Regions from separate parts of the Homo sapiens genome. Here region 1 is linked to region 2. The links are contacts of gene promoters, found by promoter capture Hi-C in blood cells and fetal thymus (Javierre and others, 2016). All regions are on one chromosome and are shown on one strand. Each heading gives the region's core, a stretch centred on a gene start or on the middle of the fragment in contact. The rest is flanking DNA. Distances are from core to core; before and after follow the strand shown.

The links. Contacts are between HindIII fragments. The CHiCAGO score rates a contact against its expected background, and 5 or more counts as called.
Region 1: a contact is called between a fragment that was not itself captured here and the fragment with the promoter of EID3 in region 2, in 8 of 17 cell types (non-activated CD4 T cells, naive CD4 T cells, naive CD8 T cells and 5 more). The highest score is 7.5, in non-activated CD4 T cells.

What each region holds. Positions count from the first base shown.
Region 1 is chr12:104,987,247-104,994,285 of GRCh38, reverse strand. NOPCHAP1 (NOP protein chaperone 1) reads right to left here. Exons shown (of 4, transcript NM_152318.3): 2 at 6,033-6,119; 3 at 2,438-2,574. Among named protein-coding and RNA genes, the nearest start is that of NOPCHAP1, 4.4 kb to the right of the region's middle. The HindIII fragment of the contact is 4,021 bases long and covers 3,044-7,039 here.
Region 2 is chr12:104,301,028-104,307,114 of GRCh38, reverse strand. It overlaps EID3 (EP300 interacting inhibitor of differentiation 3), which reads right to left and starts at 3,376. Exons shown (of 1, transcript NM_001008394.3): 1 at 1,910-3,376. The coding sequence starts at 3,180. The coding sequence ends at 2,179. The region is part of intron 4 of TXNRD1 (thioredoxin reductase 1); the gene reads right to left. RefSeq lists enhancers at 2,939-2,998, 3,029-3,268, 2,576-3,448, 5,240-5,409, 5,948-6,087 and a silencer at 3,309-3,538. The HindIII fragment of the contact is 794 bases long and covers 3,281-4,074 here.

The DNA of each region.
Region 1 (7,039 bases), core at 3,805-6,304, 690 kb before region 2:
CCCCTCCGCCTCCTGGGCTCAAGCAATTCTTGTGCCTCTCAGCCTCCTGAGTAGCTGGGACTACAGGTGTGCCCCATCACATCCAGCTAATTTTTGTATTTTCAGTAGAGATGGGGTTTCACCCTGTTGGCCAGGCTGGTCTTGAACTCCTGACCTCAAATGATCCACCCACCTTGCCCTCCCAAAGCGCTGCAATTACAGGCATGAGACAGCACACCAGGCCACAAGGATAAGAAATGTTTTTAATACAACATGGCTCTTTTATATTTTTAGTTACCAGGGTCTGTCATAATGATGATTTAAATTTACTCTAAGTGTCTAAAATATCTGCTACGGCCCAATTCTATATACCCTAAACACATTCAACAACATTCTTTCAGCAAATACTAACATGAGTTAGGCACTACACTAGGTACTAGAGACTCAATAACAATAAAAAAATCAAAACAAACCCCTCGCTTTGGTGAAATTTACATTTTCAGGCAGAGACCAGTAAATTACAACCTGCAGGCCAAATCCTGCCCACCGCCTACTTTTGTTCAGCTCACAAAGTAGGAATGTTTTTTCTATTTTTAAGTGGTTGGGGGAAAAAAATTAAAATACTGCTATTCACGAAAGGTGAAAATTATATGAAATTCTCATTTCAGCACCCATACACAGTGACGCACTGCTCTAATTGAGCCAATAAGCGATCACTCGGGGCCTTCTGTTGGAACTGTTGAGAGAGAAATCTGAGTTGCTGACTCTAAGGCTGAAGCTGCTGATAAACCAGAAACCTACCACAGCTGGGGGAAGAGCATGCTCTAGATTAGGTCAACATTAGGAAAGCAGAACCAAGAGACAGAGCGGCTGACCACTGAGGACACTGAGCACCTGGATCCAGGTGCACCTGAAATCACCAATCCTGGAGGTTTTTTTTCCCCAATAAAATGTTTTCCCCTTGCTTATTCATGTATGTATTGTCAGTGGCTGCTTTCACACTATGACAGCAGAGTTCACCAGTCACAACAGAGACAGTAAGGCCCACAGAACCTAATGTATTTACTATCTGACCTCTTACAGAAACATTTGTTGACTCTTGTTCCAGAGGCGAAAGAAAGGCAATAAACAAATACATATAAAGCATAATGTAGGGTTGTGAAAATATGGAAAAATAAAGCAGGATAAAATAATAATACAGCTATCAGGGAAGGCCTCCTGATCAGGTGACGACTGAAAAGAAACAGAGGGAGTCGAAATGGAGAAATCTAGGGAAAAGCATTCTACCTGAGAAAACCGCAGGGGAGAAGACCGGCTGCAGTGAGACTGGTGCTGGAGGGCAGTAAATGAGGACTGTGTAGGAGATAAGGTCAGACAGAGCAGCAGTGCCCAACCTCTTTGGTACCAGGGACCAGTTTTGTGGAAGAAAATTCTTCCACGGACCTTGGCAGGGATGTTTTGGGGATGAAACTGTTCCACCTCAGATCATCAGGCATTAGAATCTCATAAAGAGCGCACAACAACCTGGATCCCTTACATGCACAGTTCATAATAGGGTTCACGCTCCTTTTGGAATCTAATGCCACTGCTGATCTGACAGGAGGCAGAACTCAGGTGGTAATGCGCTCTCACCCACCGCTCACCTCCTGCTGTGCGACCTGCTTCCTAACAGGCCACAGACCAGTACCAGTCCACAGCCTGGGGGTTGGGAACCTCTGAGATAGAGAACTGCAGGCAGGATCATATGGACCCTTTGAAGGACTTAGTTTATTTGAAACGTGATGGGAAGCCCCCAGGTCCCAAACTGTGTGAACAACGGACCCCAGGGAAGGCACAGTGAACGCAGGAAAACCTGCTAAGAAATTGCTGCAATACTCCAAAGGAGAGGCCATAATTACCTGGGCCAACAAAGGTCCAAAGGAACTGCAGAGGTTGTACAAAGTGGTTGGATTTGGGATCTATTCTGGAGGGAGAGCTGAATAGAATGGCTAATGAATTAGATATTATTAACAATTGTCTCAGCTTGGTCCAGACACAGATATTATAAACGGAATTCCACTGCAGAAACAAGATATGAGTATAAACTGAGAGAACATTTTTGCACATAGCTTATGTAATCAATTGCTCTCTTCCACACATCATTTATTTTTGCATACTCAATAAATCAGGCTATGATTACCTCTTTTGGGGCTTGGACAGAAAAAAACCCAGTTAGGACATCGAGTAAATTAATGCTTCAGAATAACAAATGTAGCATTTGACTTAGGAAAAAAAACCTTCCTGTGACATCATATGACTAAAATGACTAAATCATAAAATGACTATGTACCTATACAACATTGGAAACATGAGCTAACACCAGGAAAATGAAAACTTGAAAATAAAATGGAAAAGTTCTCTTCTTCTTAGGTGACAGGCAGACCAGTAATTTCACCATATGAAAACAAAGCATAGTTACCATTTGTATAACTTTACTATGAGGCCCATCAATGTTTTCAATATTGAAACGACCAGGTGGTGCAGCTGCCATTTCTTTTCTTAGCTTTTCATTTGCCCGTGCCATCTGTGGGAGAAATGTCTGTACCTGGTCCAATACTGTGGAAAGTAAATACAGCATATCAACATTTATGCTAGTAAATTCTGAAACCCAGGATTTCCTATAAACACTTCTGAATTGAGTATTAATAATAACAACCATAATTACATATCTTTTAGTTCCCTTCATTTAAAAACCCTCCATCCTCTTCTGAATAAAACAGTAGGACTACACAATCCAGCAATTGTTTCACAAATGTTTTATGTTTCTCATATATCCCCAGGACTGTAAACTCCTAGAAGGCTGGCATTCAACAAATAGTAACTAAATAGGGAGGCAGTGTGACTTAACAGTTAAGAGCACCAGGTTCTGAGGCTTTAGGGTACGAATAACTAGGTATGTACAGAATCCTAGTTCTACCTCTATCTGAATTACCTTGGGCCAGTTAATTAAGTAGTGGTTATTTCTGCCTACCCAACATACGTTCCCTTTCTTCTGATAATATAACCCTGGCTTTCCTTTTAAGCTTGTGTCACTCTTAGTCACTCTTGCCCCTCACCCCATACATGCCTACATCCTCCATATCCTTGGCCACTGTACCATGCTTTAGTGGCATCACAGTGACACGCTGCTCTAGTCGGGCCAATAATAGATCACTCAGGACCTTTTGTTGGAACTGTTGAGAGAGAAATCTTTCTGAGTGAATGACTGAGTTGGCTGAATATAAGGCTGAAGCTGCTGATAAACTGGCAACTCTCCACACCTGGGGGAAGAGTACGCTCTAGATTAGGCCAATACCCAGGAAAGCAGAACTAAGAGACAGAGTGGCTGACCTCTGAGGACACTGAGCACCTGGATCCAGATGCACCTGAAATCTACTGTGCCTGGAGTATTTTTCCCCCAATAAAAAGAGCCAACATAATTTCTTTTTTTGCTTAAGGCAATCTGAGCTGGATTTTAGTCATTTGCAACCAAGAATCCTAATTAATACATTTAATTCTACCTCTTGAAACCTCAGCGTACTAATCCATAAAAGAGGAGTGATAACTGTCAGTCACTGTGCCAAATACAGAGCAGTCAACAAACAAGGATATTTATTTTCTCTCTCAAAAGAGGCCCAGCACATAACCACGCATATAACAGACTCTCAAAACTTATGTAACTGCTATGGCTACATAACAGATGACTAAAATGTCCAGCGTATGGAAGAAGAAAAGAAAATAGTGGCCAAGGTCAAGTAGACGACCTCTATTTGTAAAATAAGGTGCTGGAAGGACTCCCTAAGAGCATGCACACAAATAAAGCCCGACGTAATAGTGAATGTTAGCTCTCATTCCCCTTCAGATTACAGAAAGAGAAATTACTAATACAAATAAAGGTATTTCTCTGTCCTCAGATTTAAATATATTGCTACAGATAGAAAATCTGGTACTGCTTTTGTTTCCAACTAATGAATCAAGTAGAGCAAAACAAGTACCAAAATGTGCGGCCTGAACTGTGATCCTCAGAAGCCAAATAATTCCGTGGTACTCTAGGAGAGTATATGCTGAACCCTGAGGCTAGTCCAGTCGTGGTTCTTCTAAATTAAATAATACTCAACACACAACACCATAATATTCAAAATGTCCAACATCTAATAAAAAATTAGCAAACATGCAAATAAACAGGAAAACATAATCCATAAAGAGTAGGGAAAAAAGATTCAGAAATGATGCAGACGACAGAATCAGCAATAAGAATGTTAAAACAGCTCTTAGAAATATACTTTGTATGTTCAAGGAAGAAAAGAAAAGCACAAACACAAGGAAAGAAAAAAAGATGTAAACAGTCTCAAACTTCTAGAGATGGAAACTGTATCTACCTTGAAAAAATACATTTGATAGAATTAACAGATTAGACAATATAGAAGAATAGTGAACTCAACGAAATCAGCGATAGAAGCTATCCAAATTGAAACACACAAAACATAAGACCCAAACAAACAATCAATGAGCTGTGAGACAACCTCAACTGGCAAAATTAGGTGTCATTGGAGTCCCTTCAGGAGAGGCGAGACAGGAGCAAGCAACAACAACATCCCTAAAAATTTCCCAAATTTGATAAAAATTATAAACCCATAGATCCAGTAAGTTCAACAAACCCAAGCTCAAGACTCACAAAGAAAACTACAAAGGGCACATCACCATAAAATCGGTAAAAACCAGTAATGAAGGGAATCTTAAAGGCAGCCAGAGAAGAAAAGAAACACCATATTCATGACACAAAATGACAGTAGACACTGGCGTCAGAAACAATGCCACTGAAAAGAAAGTGTAGTGATGTCTTTAAAGTACTGGAGAAAACAGAAAAAGCAAAAAACCACACTGTCAACCTAGAATTCTAAATCCATTAAAGCATCTTCCAAAAACTGAAAGCAAAATACTTTCTCAGACACACAAAGGCTGGTAAGTCTATCTCCAGCAGAGCTGCACTATCAAGAATGATGTTTACAATAAGAAACCTGATTTTTTAAATGTGTTTAAGATTTGAATAGGCACTTCACCAAAGACATACAAATAGTGACACATGAAAAGATGCTCAACATTATTAGCCATTAGAAACAAATTAAGATCACAACGCGATACCACTATATCCACACTAGAACAGCTAAAATTAAAAAGGCCATACCACATTTTGGTTAGGATGTGCAGCAACTAAACTCTCATACCTTGCTGGTGGAAATGCAAAATAGCAATTTCTTCTTCGTAAAAAAAAAAAAAAAATTACACCTTCTATATACCCGCAATTCCACTCCTAGGTATGTAATCCCTCAAAACAAAAACCTATATCCACAAAAACTGGTTTTTGGATGGGCAGCCACCATATGGTCATTTCAGCTATTGTAGATTTAGTGCTACAGTAATGATGCTACAGTTAAATTCTCCTTTCAGAGTACTCATGATTTCTTAGTTTATTGATGTGATACCTTCATTACCTTCATGCTTATTTACATTGTTTTTATTGAATTTTTGCCTTTTTTTAATATTAAGAGTGAATTACATAGAGGGCATTCGTGTAATAAAGTCTGAGTGTGGGACATACTTATGAATGTGCAGTACAGCAATACTACAGAATAATAAAGAGAACTGGCCATTATGCTGTATTCTAAGTAATATTTATCATTTAAATAATTGTGTCCAATTCAATGGGATGTGGTTGTGGTTTTCCATCCATATATATTAAGTTTGAGGCTCAGTAACCTCTAAATAAATTTGCCATGGAGATTAACAATTGTTTTTGACTTCCCAAAATTCAACCCACAAGCAATTTTTCACGAAAAAGTTACCCTCTTAAAGTAGAGAAATAATGTAAGAAGTTCCATTCTGTGTACTGACTTTATCATGTAAATCCCAAGTAGGACTTGTTCCACTGGACTATCTGTGGTTTGATACCTGACAATGAAGGCAGAGACCGTCCCACAGCTTAATCAGACAAAACTCAGCATTAGAGAGGGTGAGAGAGGGGAAGAGGTACTTACAGGGACTCCTCTCTATCCGAACTGTTTGAAGAGTGGAGGTCTTTCTGGACTTAGGTTGGGAGTTGATGAGCAACCTGTCCCATATACCTGAAAATACAGACACACAAACACCCTTAATTTACTACAGCATAAAAAAACAAAGGCCCATCAGTAAGCCTCTCACATGACCAGTCTTAAGACTTGACTGTCCACACTCCCCCAAAATTTTTTTTTTAAAGGAGAACTCCAAGCTCCATTACAACATTTTAATTCTTTATGTACAGCCAGCCACCTCTCCTTTCTTACATCTGTCTCATTCACCTCTATCACCAATGGCAGGTAATAAATGCACACCAATCTGCACTTTTCTGGATCAGAAATTCATTAGCAGACAAACGTGGGTCTGCAATGACAGAACGGAGGAAACAGTACAGAGCATAACAATGGTTAAGTGAAGCCAGAAATGGTTACTAGTTGTGTAACACTGGGCAACTTACCTGATCTTCAAGCATTTGTTTCTTCATTAGTAAAACATGCTTGCCTGGTATTTCCCCTTCCCTGAAGACGTTCAACCCAAGGAAAGCAGCCTTTTGGGGATTTTGTCACCCACTCTACCTTTCCAGCCTCATTTCTCACTACTCAAATCATCCCAACTCTCTATCCCATCAGAGTTCCAAGAGGGGAACGTACAAAACTCAAGGCTTTGCACACCCTATTTCTAATACCCGGAAAATCCCTTAACTCTCTGGTTAAAAAACAAATCCTGTTCACCTGCAAAGCAGAGCCGCAACAAACATCCATTGAATGCCTACTACTTAAGGCCTACTGGATTCGTGATCAGAGCACAGAGTCTGGAGCCAGACTACTTGAATTCAAGTCCCAGTTTTGCTACTTTCTAGCCACATGATCTCCAGAAGGTAAATTACCTGTATGATAAATCATGTCTCAGGTTCCTCAACTATAAAACAGAGATAACAGATTTTCTGCAAAGGGTTGTTGTGAGGATTAGATGAGTTAGTTTCTGGGGC
Region 2 (6,087 bases), core at 2,127-4,626:
ATCATTTTACTGGTTGGTGTCATGCCAACCAGTAAAAATAGAAACAGAAGTGGTCAACTTTATATTTTAACAGCTATTAACTTTAGAGAAGACCAAAAAAATTACCTCTCCTAAGCCTCCAGATTCTCTATTAATGCTTTTAAATCATCACTGTCAAATACTCCTAGTAAAGACATGAGACATTCAACAGAGCAACTGAATGTCAGTAAAGTACTGGGGCGGGATCTTTTTGCTGTCATTAAGAGTACTTTTTCTTCCAACAGCAGATCTCTGCAAAACCCAAGGAACTTGGTTGGTAGAGACATGCTGGAAATGAGGATGAGTGAGATCAAATGGTGCTTCCATGACTGCTACTATAAATCAAAGGATACTAGACACTAGCAAGGGTCAGCGCTCTTTCATATGTGAAAGGAGTAACTAATTTAGAAAATAATTTGCCAAGTTTCATGAGAAAGTTCTATTTTTGCTAAAACCTCTACTCTATTATTGGTGAAGAACCTCATCTCCATACATGAAAAATCCTTCCTCTCAGTCTTGGTGTCATTTGTTGAGTCTTTGGATTTCCCTTTCCTGTACCACTAGACTTACTAGGAAAGTTTGCCACTGCTATGCATAACAGATACCTAAACATTTGCCAAAGTATTGTTTAATGGCAAAATTCCACGACTACCAAAAATTAAGCTCCTATAGGGATCAAGGGGAAGAAAGCTTATGGGTATGCTTACTGCACCTTCTCAAGTTACTTTCTTAATGACCCAAACTTTTGGCAATAATCTCCAAATAAGGTTGTAATTTATGCAACGGAAAGAAAAAAGCCTTTATGGCTTTACACTAAGTGAAGAACATCCAGATAAACTAACATGTTTTAGTTTCAGCAAGGTCAGTTTCCTGGCATTTAAAGCCCTATTAAGAAATGCAAAATTTGGCTCACACTTGTAATCCCAGCATTTCCGGAGGCCGAGGCGGGTGGATCACTTGGGGCCAGGTGTTCGAGACCAGCCTGGCTACCATGGCGAAACTCTGTTCCTACTAAAAATACAAGTATTTGCTGGGTGTGATGGCACACACCTGTAATCCCGGCTACTTGGGAGGCTGAGGCACAAGAATCGCCTGAACCCCGCAGGCAGAGGTTGCAGTGGGCCGAGATTGCACCACTGCACCCCAGCCTGGGCAAGAGTGATACTCTGTCTCGAGGGGGAAAAAAAAAGATAGAAATGCAAAATTAAAGTGGGACAAATATTCAAAGTTGTTACATGATGAAAAAGCGTAGATTGTGAAGGACATTCTATGTACTAGCAAAGACCACAAAGGGACACTAGGGGCCAGAGAAGAAATTCAGTAGATAAAAACTACAACTGGATAGCAAGATCTTGTGTTCAATGTATAATAGTTTGACAAAAACATCTTCTCAGGATATTAATAGATGAAGTTATTCAATTGTTGCCCAGCTTATCAAATATAATAGTTTTTCCATAAATCTAATGGTCCTCTCGTGCCTAACTTCTAACAATTCCATGCATTTGACCTTGCTATTCTCTTGCCTAGAATGCCTTTTCCTTCTTCGTGTTTCTACTCACCTTTCACCCTTAGCTGATACCTCAACTACTACAGCAGAGACACTACTTTTGCTGAGTACAATAACAGAAATTGTTTAGAATATGGATACTCACTCATAAATCCTAAGTCTTCCTTGCAATGACTTTTTTAGTCTTAATGTTGCATATTCACTGCCTTACAGACAGGTTTTTTTTTTTAACTTTTGTTTTTTACCCACTCTTTGCCCAACCTGGTTAGGAACCCTTTCTGGGATTCTCTTGGTTCCCTATGACAGAGAAAGCAACGCATCACAGAGCATCATCACTGATTTTCGTAAATTATTATGTTTTGCAAATTATCAAATATCCCTTAATTTGGTATCCAAAACTTGTTTTTATTAATAGTCTTAAAGGGCATTCAATAAAACGTTCCCATAAATATGCCAGTGAATTTGTTTTAATAACAGAAGATCATGACCTTATAAATTACTAAGAAAAATATGCTGCACAGTAAAACAATGTCTGATGTTCTTGAAAATACTTTTTCACTTTACAAGAGATACAATATGTGCTTCAGTTTACATTTTACTCTCCATCTAACTTCAGAAAAAAAACACAAAAAGGATGCTATACTAAGAAATCTTTAGTATGAGGAGTATGTAATCATAGCCTCAGAAATTTCAAAAGCTGCCACAATGTTTTTCCACTCCTGTAAAGTCAAAGATATAACTCCCTGTTTCCTGCCATGGCAACTGGAATCATTTCCCTCACCCATTTGGTTAACATTCATCGGCTCTAATATTGGCAGCCTGTCTTCATCAAGCCTTATTCTTGCAAAACCATCTCTTACAATAAAAGAAACATAAAATATATTCTCCACAGTACGAGAAAAAGAGTTTGGATCAATCACAAACTCAAAATAGGACACAGGAGTATCAGGATACTTTCGAAAGTAGGTTTGCAACAATCCCAAAATCCTTTCTACGTTTTTTTCTGTCGCTTCTGGATAACTACTCAGGTCCAACTTCTGCAACTTTGTAGGCATGTTGCCATTTTCTTCCATCTTGCGAACTTTTTTCTGGTGTTCAAGTCGGGGCTTTGGTGCAGAACGTTCTAGCTTGAATGAACCAAAAACAAAATGGAATGTCTCAGCTTTTACCATCCAGGATGTTGCTTCCTTTTCTATTGCCTTCCAGAAGGAAAGAGCTATGCTATCATCACAATCACTCAACTTGTCAGGATCGCCTTCCATCCAATTCAGACCCACGAACAGAAACAGAAAGTCACAAAATGCTAACTGATTAAAGAAGTTCATATCTGAGTTTAACTGCTTTGCCTTTTCTTTACCCAAATCAGAAGCCATAACAAGAAACCGGGCGTCGAGGGCTGCTTCTCTGGTTCGGCTCACGCCATCAAAGAGGACGTTGGCTTCCTCCAGAGCCTCGGTTAAGGAGTTGTTCGCCGAGCTCACGATGTCCTCCCGGTTCTGCCGCACGCAGTACATGAGCTGCCGGTACTGCCTGCGGATGCTGCGGCACTTCTCCTCGTCAGCGGTGAGCTCCAGGAGCTTTGGGTCTACGTCGGCCTCCCCAGAGCTGAGGTCGTCGGAGCAGCCCGCGGCCCTCACTGACACATCCATCTTCATCAGCGCTCCCTCCGCCGCCGCCTACTTCGCCGCGTACTCGCTACCGGGGATGATCACGAGCTGCTCCTCTCCTTTCTCTTCGTCTCCCTTCCGGGAAGCTTTTTCAACCAACATGCCGGCCACGGGTATCTCTGAGGTAACGGCCCTCCCAGCGTGTGGAAAGTGGCGGCAGTTAGAGCCGAGGACGCCCGCCCATGCGCACTAGCGGCCCGGCCCGGCGCGACCCGCCCCCAGCACGCTCCGCGGGAAGACAGCCCCGCCCCGGCCCGGCCCAGCCACAAGCCGAGGCGCTCGCTCATAGACCAGCGCGGCGCTCCCAACACGCGCAATGATGGGCCCTGACCTCACACGCGACTAATGCCCGCTCAGGGGACAGCTATTCTTTTTCAAAGCGTTTACCGACTGGATCACCTCACTTTAAAAAAAAACACTTTTGGACAACTTTACACAAAACTATTGAGGAGACTAAAGGTCCTGCGCTTTAAAACGCTCGCTGCCATCATATACTGCAGTGAGGTCGACCTGGTTTTGGTTTTTTGTGAACTAAATCTGGCTGGACTGTAAACCGTCGGTAAGGCCAAGGACCGTGAAAAGCAGAAACTCCATTAAGCAGGCTAAACTCTCAGTTCTTTTGCAAGGTGGTGTTTGGACTCATTATACAAATGTAAATCGGGTTAATTACTTTCACATGTCCTCTTAAAAACCAAGCCCCCTCCAATACCCATCCTGAGTATCTGTGGGATCGGGGGAGCCTCCAATATCCGTGCTAACCCCTGCAGGAAACTGGGTGCTGGGCACGGGCATTACTCAGGTGAACTTTGGTTCTCCACTACCCAGGAGTGGAAGAATAGAATGGGTAGAGATCTCTGCAAAAGAGCTATTTACTTGGAAGCTTGCCAACAGCTAAAGGCCACCGACACTGAATGGGTAGTAACTCTGAACCCTAAAAGGTGGGCAAAGCTATGAAAATTTCAGATACAGTCTAAGGATATGAAAGCTTAATCTGTAAACTGGGTGAGTAATCTGCGTGGGAAAATTTACCCATTGGATTTAATGGGGTCACTGGAAACTCAAGTGCAGTTAAAGACGTGACTCCTTATCTGTCTCACCAGCAGCAAATAGCAAAGTATACATAACAATGGGAATGGCCGGGCGCGGTGGCTCACGCCTGCAATCCCAGCACTTTGGGAGGCCGAGGCGGGCGGATCACGAGGTCAGGAGATCGAGACCATCTTGGCTAACCCGGTGAAACCCCGTCTCTACTAAAACTACAAAAAATTAGCCGGGCGCGGTGGCAGGCGCCTATAGTCCCAGCTACTCGGTAGGCTGAGGCAGAAGAATGGCGTGAACCCAGGAGGCGGAGTTTGCAGTGAGCCGAGATCGGGCCACTGCACTCCAGCCTGGGCTATAGAGCGAGACTCCGTCTCAAAAAAAAAAAAAAAAAAAAAGGGAATGAATACATCTGGTTTTTAAAGAGAACATGCACACAAACAACCCATGAGCATCAACAGCTTTTCAAACCTGCAACAGGTACACCTTAAAAAAAAAAAGACACCCACAATTGCACCTGTCCAATTGCCAGTTTCATAGCACCAGGAAGTAAATTAGCCCTACCTTCCTTTATGCATATAGACTTGTTCTATTTCTTTAGCATTAGCAGAAAGTTTTTTGTAAATGTATAAACAGCAAAATCTAGTAGTATTAAGTTACTCCAAAATCCTTATATTACCATTTGCTCCCAATTATTTTATTAACTAGGGGTAATTCAGGGAGATACGTGCATTTTTCAAAACACCATGCATTACGGTTAGTTGTACATATATATGATCCTACCCTATTAGATTGTTGGCTTCTCAAAAACAAAAGCTGCGTTTTAGATCTTCCAAACATAGCTGTTTTTACACGGAGATGCACTTATGTACTGAATGTATAACTTAAAATAGATTTAAAACTATCCCAGCATCTACTGCAAGTTATTTGGCAGCAAAGATTTAAGTTCACAGATTCGTGGAATTAATCCTACACACTGAAAGGAAAAGTTGACTGCTCTTCAGAAAAAGTTCTTATCCCTCTTCTAAAATAAAGGAAAAATGAAAGAAAGGTAAGTTGAGACCCAGGATCATTCAAGGATCGTATCTGTCCCTAGTCTGGCCAATTACAAACTAGTATTTGAACTTGTTTTAAATCTTAGGTGAAAATACAGTTAAGAATTCCAAGACCCAAATCCAAAAAAGTCTGCTTTTACAGTGAACGATATTCTTAGGAGCTTCTCACATCCACTTTAAATTCAACAAAAGCAGCCGGGCACGGTGGCTCACGCCTGTAATCCCAGCACTTTGGGAGGCTGAGGCGGGCGGATCACGAGGTCAGGAGATCAAGACCGTCCTGGCTAACACGGTGAAACCCCGTCTCTACTAAAAATACAAAAAATTAGCCGGGCGTGGTTGCAGGCGCCTGTAGTCCCAGCTACTCTGGAGGCTGAGGCAGGAGACTAGCCTGAACCCAGGAGACGGAGCTTGCAGTGAGCCAAGATCGCGCCACTGCACTCCAGCCTGGGCGACAGAGCGAGACTCCATCTCAAAAAAAAAATTCAACAAAAGCTACTTACAAAAGAACTCTAACAGATAAGCCAACCCTTCCCACCCTATGGTGCCTATTTTCTTCTGGCTCAGAGGAAGGAAAATAGGCTGACACCAATTTGCTACATAAAGACCCTTTCATCTAAGAATTTCAAAATGCCTTAGAAAACTATATTCTCCCAACCTGCTTATAAAGTATTACTAATACCATTTACAGGGATTTCTCAGGAGATAACAGCCCACACAACTTGCTCAGAGCAACAGAGCATATCGAGGCAAACATTAAGTTGTGATTTACAGTGCTGAATGCATTCTATGCTAGATCTCC